Regions from separate parts of the Homo sapiens genome. Here region 2 is linked to region 1. The links are contacts of gene promoters, found by promoter capture Hi-C in blood cells and fetal thymus (Javierre and others, 2016). All regions are on one chromosome and are shown on one strand. Each heading gives the region's core, a stretch centred on a gene start or on the middle of the fragment in contact. The rest is flanking DNA. Distances are from core to core; before and after follow the strand shown.

What was found. Contacts are between HindIII fragments. The CHiCAGO score rates a contact against its expected background, and 5 or more counts as called.
Region 2: a fragment that was not itself captured here is called in contact with the fragment with the promoter of NXT1 in region 1 in 1 of 17 cell types (non-activated CD4 T cells); the score reaches 6.8 in non-activated CD4 T cells.

Annotation. Positions count from the first base shown.
Region 1 is chr20:23,348,615-23,353,415 of GRCh38, forward strand. NXT1 (nuclear transport factor 2 like export factor 1) reads left to right here and starts at 2,177. Exons shown (of 2, transcript NM_013248.3): 1 at 2,177-2,447. NXT1-AS1 (NXT1 antisense RNA 1) reads right to left here and starts at 2,853. Exons shown (of 3, transcript XR_937384.2): 1 at 2,716-2,853. RefSeq lists enhancers at 1,178-2,050, 1,759-1,898, 1,818-2,112, 2,051-2,922, 2,979-3,028 and silencers at 1,469-1,598, 2,219-2,488. The HindIII fragment of the contact is 12,471 bases long and covers 1-4,801 here.
Region 2 is chr20:17,570,081-17,574,598 of GRCh38, forward strand. It overlaps DSTN (destrin, actin depolymerizing factor), which reads left to right. Exons shown (of 4, transcript NM_006870.4): 1 at 1-131. The coding sequence starts at 129. Among named protein-coding and RNA genes, the nearest start is that of DSTN, 2.3 kb to the left of the region's middle. RefSeq lists silencers at 1-125, 146-435. The HindIII fragment of the contact is 938 bases long and covers 782-1,719 here.

The DNA of each region.
Region 1 (4,801 bases), core at 927-3,426:
AGCCCAGCGCCACACCCTGGGCCTGGTAAAGATTGACTCCTGACCTAATTGGTTGTTTGCATAAAAAAGGCACTGTGAAGATCCCTGTCCTGTCCTGTTCCGTTCTAATTACCTGTGCATGCAGCCCCAGTCACATACCCACTGCTTGCTCAATTGATCATGACCCTCTCACGTGGACCCCCTTAGAGTTGTGAGCCCTTAAAAGGGACAGGAATTGCTCACTTGGGGAGTTCGGTTGTTGGAGACGTGAGTCTTGCTGAAGTTCCCTGGCCGAATAAAGCCCTTCCTTCTTTAACTTGGTTTCTGAGGGGTTTTGTCTGCGGCTTGTCCTGCTACAAATAGGGGGAATAAAAGCCAGGGTTGCTTCCAAAGAGAGCAGGGAGTGAGTGTTGAGGACAGATCATCACAACTGTGCAGTTGAGGAGCATGATTTGAACCCAGGTTTGTCTGTTCATTCAAACAGTATTTATTGAGCCCTTGCTTTGGGTCAGGCACAATTTTATATGCTGGAGACACAAACCTAAAAGGACCCTAACCTAAAAGGCAGACCCCACAAACCTAAAAGGCAGAACAGCTGCCTTTCAAAGCTAAAGTCTCGCATTTTTAAAAGGCCTTGGAGCTGCATTAATGTTCTTCTAATTTTTCTAGGTATGAATCTTCATACTTTTCTAGGTATGAATCGACCCTGTGACACCAGGATGGTTCTTTGTCAGCCTCCTTGTCTATAAAATCAGAAATAATGGTACCTCCCCCAATAAGTTATGTGAAACAAATTAAAGGGGCTTATTATACAGGAAACAAAAGCAGCACAGCATCCAAACTACTGAGCGTGCAGTAAATCAACGCATTCCCACTTCCATTCCATCCACGCTGATTTAGATCAATCCAAGTATCACTGCCTTGGGGTTCAAAAGGCCATGTTAGTTCACAAAGCCCCGAAAATGCTCTTTCACACTCTCTGCTCAGCCTCCAACGTGTCTTTTTAATAATCCAAACTTTCCACCTACTTAACTGAAGTGTGTGGGGGGAGAGGGTGCGGGGGGGAAGGGGTGGCCTATACTAAATAGCCCAACTGTTTTCCACTTGTCCTGAAATCTGAGACCAAGATTCTCTTAGGAATGCAAGCAAAGGGAGCCGACGGGACGCCAAGAAAGCACAGGTTAAACTACCTCACTTCATCTAGCCCCATTTCTCTCCTGGCTTTTCAATTAATTATTCAGCCTCAGACCAGCAGATGGAGCTGAAAATGTTGTCTAAAGAAATGAGGTTTTTCTTTTAATTTACAAGCTATAGTTTCTCATGCCTCCACACTGAATGGTTACATCCTGTTGAGCCTGTTCGTAAAGTTCAGTAAAAATCCAGTTCTCATTCCAGAACAGCTGAATCGTAGCTATGAACGCGGAAGAACAGAGTCCCAACCCCAGCCGGGCCCGGGTTTCCCGGGGCCCCTCAAGCCTCAGGGCAGTGGAGAGCCGCCGTCACGCCCCCGCCTCCCCCACGTCCCACCCTCGCCCCAGTCTCCTCCCACTTTTAGCTACTTTTCCCATCTGACTAAAACTGGCTTCCTCCGTGTCCACCAAGATGTCGCCTCTAAGTGGCCTAACTCCTAAAGAGCGCGATCGGCTCAAGCACTCCGCCACGCGGTTTCCACGGGGCGCGGCCGGCGTTGCCCTCGCCGTGGCCTCAAGCATTGCGGCGCCCCACATGTTGCCAGACGGAAGGCCTCGGCGGGGTCAGGCAGCTGCTGCTGGCCGTGACTACATCACTGGTGACGTTTCACGAGACTTTTAACTGAAATCACTCCAATACAGGCGCATGCGGGACGAGGGGAAAGCATCTCACCCGACCCCACACACCTTCCCCTCCCTCTCCAGCCTAGCGGCCTCCGCTCAGCGGAAAAAAAAGCAGACGCTACTCCCCGCTCTAGGTGCGGGACCTAAGAGGTTTGGCCCAATCAGGCATCCCACCTAACCAGACGGGCCGGAGTCTGTGGCCCGGTTGGACCAACGAAAACTCTAGGGCGGATTTGCCGGGATTTCTGGGAAAGTGACACTCCCGGAAGCTACCGCCTCTTATAAGCCACACATGGGCGGAGTTAGCCTTCCGGCCCGCAGTCCCACTGGCTGACTTCGCTGCCCGTCACGGGAATGCGGGAGAGGGCGGCGCCGGGGCGCTCGCGTCTGCGTGGAGACCGGCTGGCCGCGCGCGGGAAGCCGCGGAACTGCGCCGGAAAGTCCCCCGGCTCTGGGGCCCCGGTGACCCAGAGTAAGCCTCCAAGAAGGAGGAGGAGGAGAGAAAGGCGGCTCTTCCCGTGCCCCTACCAGAGGCTTCGGTGGGCCCACCTTGTGACCTCCGCGGCCGGCCCCTCAGTGGAACTGCGTCCCACGCGGGGGGCGTCCCGACCGTGGGGGCCGCGGCCCGCGCTGACCCTGGACGTCGCCGCGCAGGTACGTTGCCGTCCCCCGGCGGTCTGACCCCCGAGACAGCCCCTAGTGCATACCCCACGCCCTCCTCCATTGTCGAGAATGAGACACGGCTGTGCCTTTGTCCACGTGGTAGAGTTGCCGCCGCGGTGAGGCTCTCGCCTGTGCAAAAAGCGTGGCAGCGAATTCTCATCAACGAGGGGAGGCGCGTCCCCTCACAGCGCAGCTCTCGGGTCTGAGGAGGGCCGGGCAGGGCGTGCGTCTGTCTAGGTTTGAATTAAAGGCGACTCACAGGAAATAAGGCCATGCCACTGTGGTAGCTTTTCCCGTCCATCTCCGGACACTCGACGGTGTGGGTCGTGCGAGGAGGCGGCAGTCTTCACAGCCTCTTACTCTAGTCCTCACGGTCAGGTTCTTTTTCTGATTTGACACAGACAGCGGGACTGACGACCTCATAGGTAGCTGAAAACCGTAAGTGGAGATGGTCCTTCTATGGTGTGTGGGGGCGTGGCCAGTTGTTAGATTGTGTTTGGAAAGACAGCCAGGGGCGGAGAAGAGGGGCATTTCTGAGATGATGGGGGGACTGGTGCCATGGAGGGAGGAGGAGTGAGGTGGAGATCGGGAATTCCAGCCAAAGAGAAATGGGGTCCCTGGGAGAAAATTCCCACTCTAGCAGTCCTGGAGTTGTGCTCATGGAGACTTGCTTACGCGAGTACAAGGACAGCGTTGTATTGACAAAATTTCAGCCCTCAGTCTAGTCTTGTAAACGATAGATCAGGAGTGTACTTAACCGTCGTTACTTTGATCCAGCCCTAGGTTTCCCTTTTCTCATTTGTAAAATTGTTATAGTAATACCTTTTTCATCCATTTGTGGTAACATTTAAATGAGGTAATTTGTGTGAAGCCCTTAGCAAACACAGCGCTTCTTAGTCGTGGGTTCCGCGTGGGGTGGATTCAACCAACCTCAAATCAAAAATATTCTTCAGAAAAAGAAAAATGCGTTTGTACTGAACATGTAGAGGCTTTTTTTTTCTTGTCATTATTTCCTAAACTATACAGTATAACAACTATTTACATCCCATCTACATTGTATTAGGTATTATAAGTTACCTACAGATGATGAAGGTATATAGGAGGATGCTGCGCATAGGTTATATCAAACAGTACACCATTTTATCAGGGACTTGAGCATCTGCAGGTGTTGGTATCCTCGGGGGTCCTGAATCCAGTTCCTCACAGATACCGAGGGACCACTGTACTCAGTCCAGAGTACAGTTGAGGCTTAACTATGAGGTCTGTGGAGGGCGTGGAAAGACCCACGTCTGAAATTGGCTCTTAACTGCTCATTTTTAGGACAGCTTCCCTCCCAGCCAGCCCTTTACCAGAGGCAATGCACCATCTTTGCAGCCGTTATAAGTACCTGGCTCTTTCCAGCCCTATGTGGAATGTTTTATTTATTTCATAAGCTAATCATTATAAAAAAAAAAGTCTTTTTTTTGAAATGAAAAAAAACTGTTCACTAAGTTTGTAAGTATAAACTATTTTAGTAATGTCCTCTATTTTAGTAATGTCCTCTTTTTTTTAAGTGAAATATTTTAATTATGGAGAAAAGAACATAACAGTTGTACCTGTACCCTGAAAAAAGTAAATGTCAATTTTTTAAATGCTTTTGGACTTTTTTATTTGGGGGACAATGTGACATTTCAGCTATAGTTCATATTCTGTGTCCACACACCCAAGAGCTTTGAAATCTAACATGCCTTTCTGTGGAGGCACTGTGACTCCACAGGACTTATCTGGTGGATGTTAGTACCTGTGTAAGCTGGGTGTCCTCCCTTCTAATCCCCACTCACCCAAGAGGTTTGCTGCTTCTAGCTTATCATGGGGATTATGGCTGCCATTTTGATTCTGTCCTCATGTCATTTGTGTTTCTACCCTCTTAAGAAACCTGCCTTCTCTGCCTTCCCAGTTCCTCCTGAGTGAGCTCATGATAGACTTTCCTAGACTCAGCAGCTGACGAGCATTTCATTGGTTTGGTTGGCCTTTATTGGGCCAGTGACCACTCTTCCCTTCAACATGGTCCACTGTCTTTACCAAGGGGCTGTCATGTCTGTTGCAAGCATTCAGGAAAGAGTGGCCTTCCATACTCAAATGTACTCTATTTTATAAAATGTGATTTTAAAAATTCGTGGTCCAATCAGGCCTCCTTATCCTCTGGGAATTGATTCCAGCAGCCCCCCTAGCCCCACAACAGACCAAATCTGCTGATGCTCCAAGTCCTTGATATAAAATGGCGTTAAGGCCGGGCATGGTGGCTCATGCCTGTAATCCCAGCACTTTGGGGGGCCGAGGCAGGCAGATCACCTGAGGTCAGGAGT
Region 2 (4,518 bases), core at 1-2,500, 5.8 Mb before region 1:
GGGTAAGCTCGCGCCGCCGCGTCAGCTCAGCGCTGGGTCTCTCGGTCCCGCAGCCGTGAGGAGGACGGTCTGCATACTCGCTGCCCGCCGGCTCCCTCCCCCGCGTCCCTGCGACCGCCGCGGCGAAGATGGTGAGTAGGAGGGAGGCCGAGGCGTGGGCCGAGGCGGCCGGGAGCAGTGTGTCTCTGGGGCGCCGCGGAGTCGGGGCTAAGGGGGTGAGCCGTGCCTCAGCCCGGGGAGGGACCCGGTCCGGCTGCAGTGTCCGGGCTGCGGGTGAGGGGGGGTCTCTGGGCCTCCGTCTCCCGCCGTCCTGGCTGGGCCCCCGCGCCCCGGGGTGGATCCGCGGCTGTTGCGCAGCTCCCAGCTGGGGCGAGGCCGCCGCCCTGAGCGTGGCCTCTGCGGGTGTCTCCAGACCCGGCCTTGCAACAACTGGCTGGGGTCGAGCGCCCCCACCCGCTCTGTGAAATCCATCCGGGGGTCTGCACACCGAGGCCGGGGAGTGGGGGGCGGGGGGCGTCGGAATCCGGCCACCGTCCTTGTTGGCGTGGGTTTCCCCAGAGCTGGCGCTGAGGCGCTTGGTGACTTGTGCGCGTTCCAGCCCTTGAGGTCTGTCCATCTCAATAAGGAAGATAAAGCCTTTATGGAACAGTCCTAGAGCACGGAATGATCGCTAACGAGCAGGATCCTGGCATGATTTAGAACGGGGTGGCCTTGCAGCTCCTTTGTTTTTTTCTTTTTATCTGGCAATCGGCTTCCAGCAGCACTCTCGTCGTGCTTGTCAAGCTTGGCAGTGTCTGTTTTAACCCTTCCCTGCCCGATCTGTCCGTGTATGGTTAGAATTTTTTTTCTGACCTGTAGACAGTTGGACTCTGCCAGAACTTGGTGCGCAAGGTGTGGGCATGATGCTGGGATGCTGATACAACCAAATTTAAGAGCTTTAAAAACCATTAAAATACTGGAGTCACCAGAAAGTAAACAGGTGCTCATTAGTATATTCTATATGATGGACATTTTGCTTAATTTACATATTTTCCCCCTTTACACTGTCACTCTAATTAGCTATTTAAAAACGTATTCTCAACTGAACTATCAGTTGGAACATTTTGTCGTTTTCGTTAGTGTGCACACACTGTTACCATTTTTGGTCAGTGATTTGCAGGCGTAGCCTTACCAGACTTTGCTAGAAATATTACACTGTAATTGCATCTGTCTAGAAGCAGTTGGTACCAGCTTATCTGCATACAAACTGTTTTCACTGTATAACAGTTTTGGTTTTCTTAAGTTACTACAACTTCCGTGAACATGCAGGCGGCCCCTTAGTGAAAGAAAAGATAAACCGGTAGTTTCTTGATGACTGTAGATATGTATGTAATAGGGATTTGATACTGTTCAGTTTTTGGTTCTTCTTTGGTTTAATGCTGTAAGCTACAAAGTATCAGCATCTTGAGTCTTTTTAATATCTAATTATTAGAAATTTAATAACATTTTAAATGTATATGCTACTTTATACTGAAAGACTTAATCTAGGGGCTTTGAGTTATGGTACGCTTAAGACCATTCACTCTGTGAAAGTGCTTTGAAGCTGACTAGGGTCTGCTCTAGAGACTTCTGATTTGACATTATGCTTTTTTATTGAGTGGCTAATACAGACTTTATTTTTCTGTTTGAAAATAAGAGACCAAACATTTTACCTTTAGTTAAATGCTTAGTTTTAGTTAAAGCTTAACTAAATTCAAGGAAGGAAGGGTCTGTTATATTTCCTGGTTCTTGTGAGGAGTGGGAGAAATAAAAATTAGAAATGAGCGATTTCCAAATACGCTTCAAAATTGTTGGCTTTAGGGAGATCAAGAAGACCTTACAAGTTACTCTTAGAGTTCAGATTATAGACCCCCCATTTTTAAAGGTTATTTTTGTTTTTAGCCTTATGAGCGCAGGAGCATCTTTGTTTAGTTCAGTGATTAGAGAATATTGTGGGTATTATCCCAGAGTCTAGCACTTTGCTTTTAGCTCTTTTGGTTAGATGCTTGGTTCCAAGTTTCTTTTAAGATTAAATTTTAACTACCGATGGGTTTGTTCTAAATTAGCAGAATCACTTCCTTGTACTCACCAAGTCTTTTAGAAGCACCTGAAATAAAGCAGTTTGAAACCAGCTGGGCGCTTCAGGATGAGATTAGATGTTTTCAGATGTCTCCTCCAACAAAAAACAAACAACGTCTGCCTCCACGTGAACCACAATTACAGACCCCAAACAAAACGTGTGTGTGTGTGTACTGGGTGTGCCAGCCTCCTTATACAGAGATTGTTTAGTAGCCCATCATCAAGTTACTAAGGTTATTTGCTCAGTAGTTCTACTGGATATGGATTGAGACATCACACCTAGACTTGCCTAGCTCCTCTTGTAACCAGAGTATCTTTTATGCTTCTTGGAAAGTAAGAGTGTAGTCTTGCCCCTGAAGTAGAGTTAAAAGGTTTGCACGATAATCTAACCCTTAACCTTATCCTAATCTGGACTGTGGTCTCACAGACTGAACTAATTGGCGCAGTATTCAAGTATTCTAATACTTGGTGATTAGCAAAAACACTACAACCCAGTGAAATAGGTTGGGCATGTATTCACATGCCTATTTAACATATGAGAAAACAGATTGTAAAGGATTAATTGACTTGAGACAAATCACCTTTTCCAACTCCAAGTTTTAAAATAATAATTTTGAAACATTTTAAGCAGAAAAGTACACAGAATAACAGATCCTTTTGTACAGGAAAAACAGGGCTATCTTATTGCCATATTTCAGGTTTTTATGTTATCATTACAGCTAAATATGCATCATCTTCCTCATCCCACTCCCTTCCCTCCCTAGAGTTATAACCATTCCTGTGTCAAAGACATAATATCCTGGCTGGTTAAGGAGATGATTTTATTCAGGCTATTGCAATTAGGAGAGCATTCCTGATTGCCTTATTTGAAAATATGCAACAGGCCAGTTCTTTGCAGTTACCTGTTTCCCAGAACACAAAACGGTGGGGTGGATTAACCATCACTGCTTTCTGAGAACACAGAGCTCAGGTAAAGTTCACAGTAGTCACCTGAAATTGATATTCATTGATAGTTCCATACTTTTAGCTACTTAATCATTCATATGTATTGCCTTGATGTGCTTTTAAAACTTACGTAAATACTGTGCTTCATGTATCCTTTTGCAGCTCTGTGAGAAAAAATTAAACTTTGTGGGGGTGGTTTTTTTTTTCCCAGGGGAGGGCAGCTTTTGGATTTATTTGTAGCTTTGGTTCTTCAACTGCTGAATTGTGTTCTTTTGTATGATTGTGCAAGTTTATCCATTCCCCTGTTGATAGACATTCAGCCATTTCCTAATTTTTTGCCTTTTTTTGGTCTATTTAAAGTTTTTATAATAGGCAATTTCCATGTCATATATTGCTATATATTACTTCTCTAGCCCCAGTGTGTATCTCTCCATGGTGTATATCTAGAAGCGGAAGCCCTGGATTGGAGCATACATATTTTCTACTCTACTACTGGTTCGTTCTGGTTGTATCTCATCATTAACAGCTTGTTTCTACATTGCCTTTCACCACTTAATAAGAGACTTGAAACCTTTGCCAGTCTGATGGTTGTGAAATGGTTTCTCATTATTTTATTTTGCATTTCTTTGATTACTAGTGAGCTGACTCTTTTCATATGTTTATTGCATCTTAGGTTTTTACACGCATGCTGCATCCTGCAAACCTGGCCATTCTGTAAATACTTACCATCTTCACCTAAGCTTATTTGCAGAGCCATAAAGTAAATGTAGCAGTAAAAAAAAAAAAAAAAAAATCAGCTGGATACAGTGGCCTATACCTGTCATCCCAGCACGTTGGGAGGTTGAGGCAGGAGGATTGCTTGAAGCCAGGAGTTGGAGACCAGCCTGGACAATATAGTGAGACCTTGTCTGAACAAAAAAATTAAATAAAAATTAACTGGGCATGCTGGCATGTGCCTATACTCCTAGCTATTTGGGGGACTGAGGTGGGAGTATTGCTTGAGCCTGGGTGTTAGAGGCTTCTGTGAGCTATGATTGTACTACTGCACTCCAGCCTGGCCACAGCGGGAGACCCTGTCTCAAAAAACAAGAACATGATTATCAATACCAGAACCTCATACTGAGGAGTAATATTTCTCTTTTCTGGCACATAAATTTCTTTCCAGGCCCCTTAGCCAGCTAATTACCAGAAGTTCAATACTCTCTGTTAATTCTATCCACCTGCCATTTTTAGGCCCCTGGTAGTGGTAGAATGTAGAGTGACTTAGGACAGAGTTCTTTCCTTCTTTGCCAAGGGCTGTGGAGATTAATGTCCTTCACTTTACACTTACCCCTCTCTTTCCTGGCAGTTCTTCTAGCCAAAATGTAAAAGCACACACAGTAGATATATGGGAACAATGCACTTCTGCTAAAATTTGCTGTGTACCTAAAACTTCTCTAAAAAATTAAAAGTCTATAGCTGGGCGTGGTGGCACGT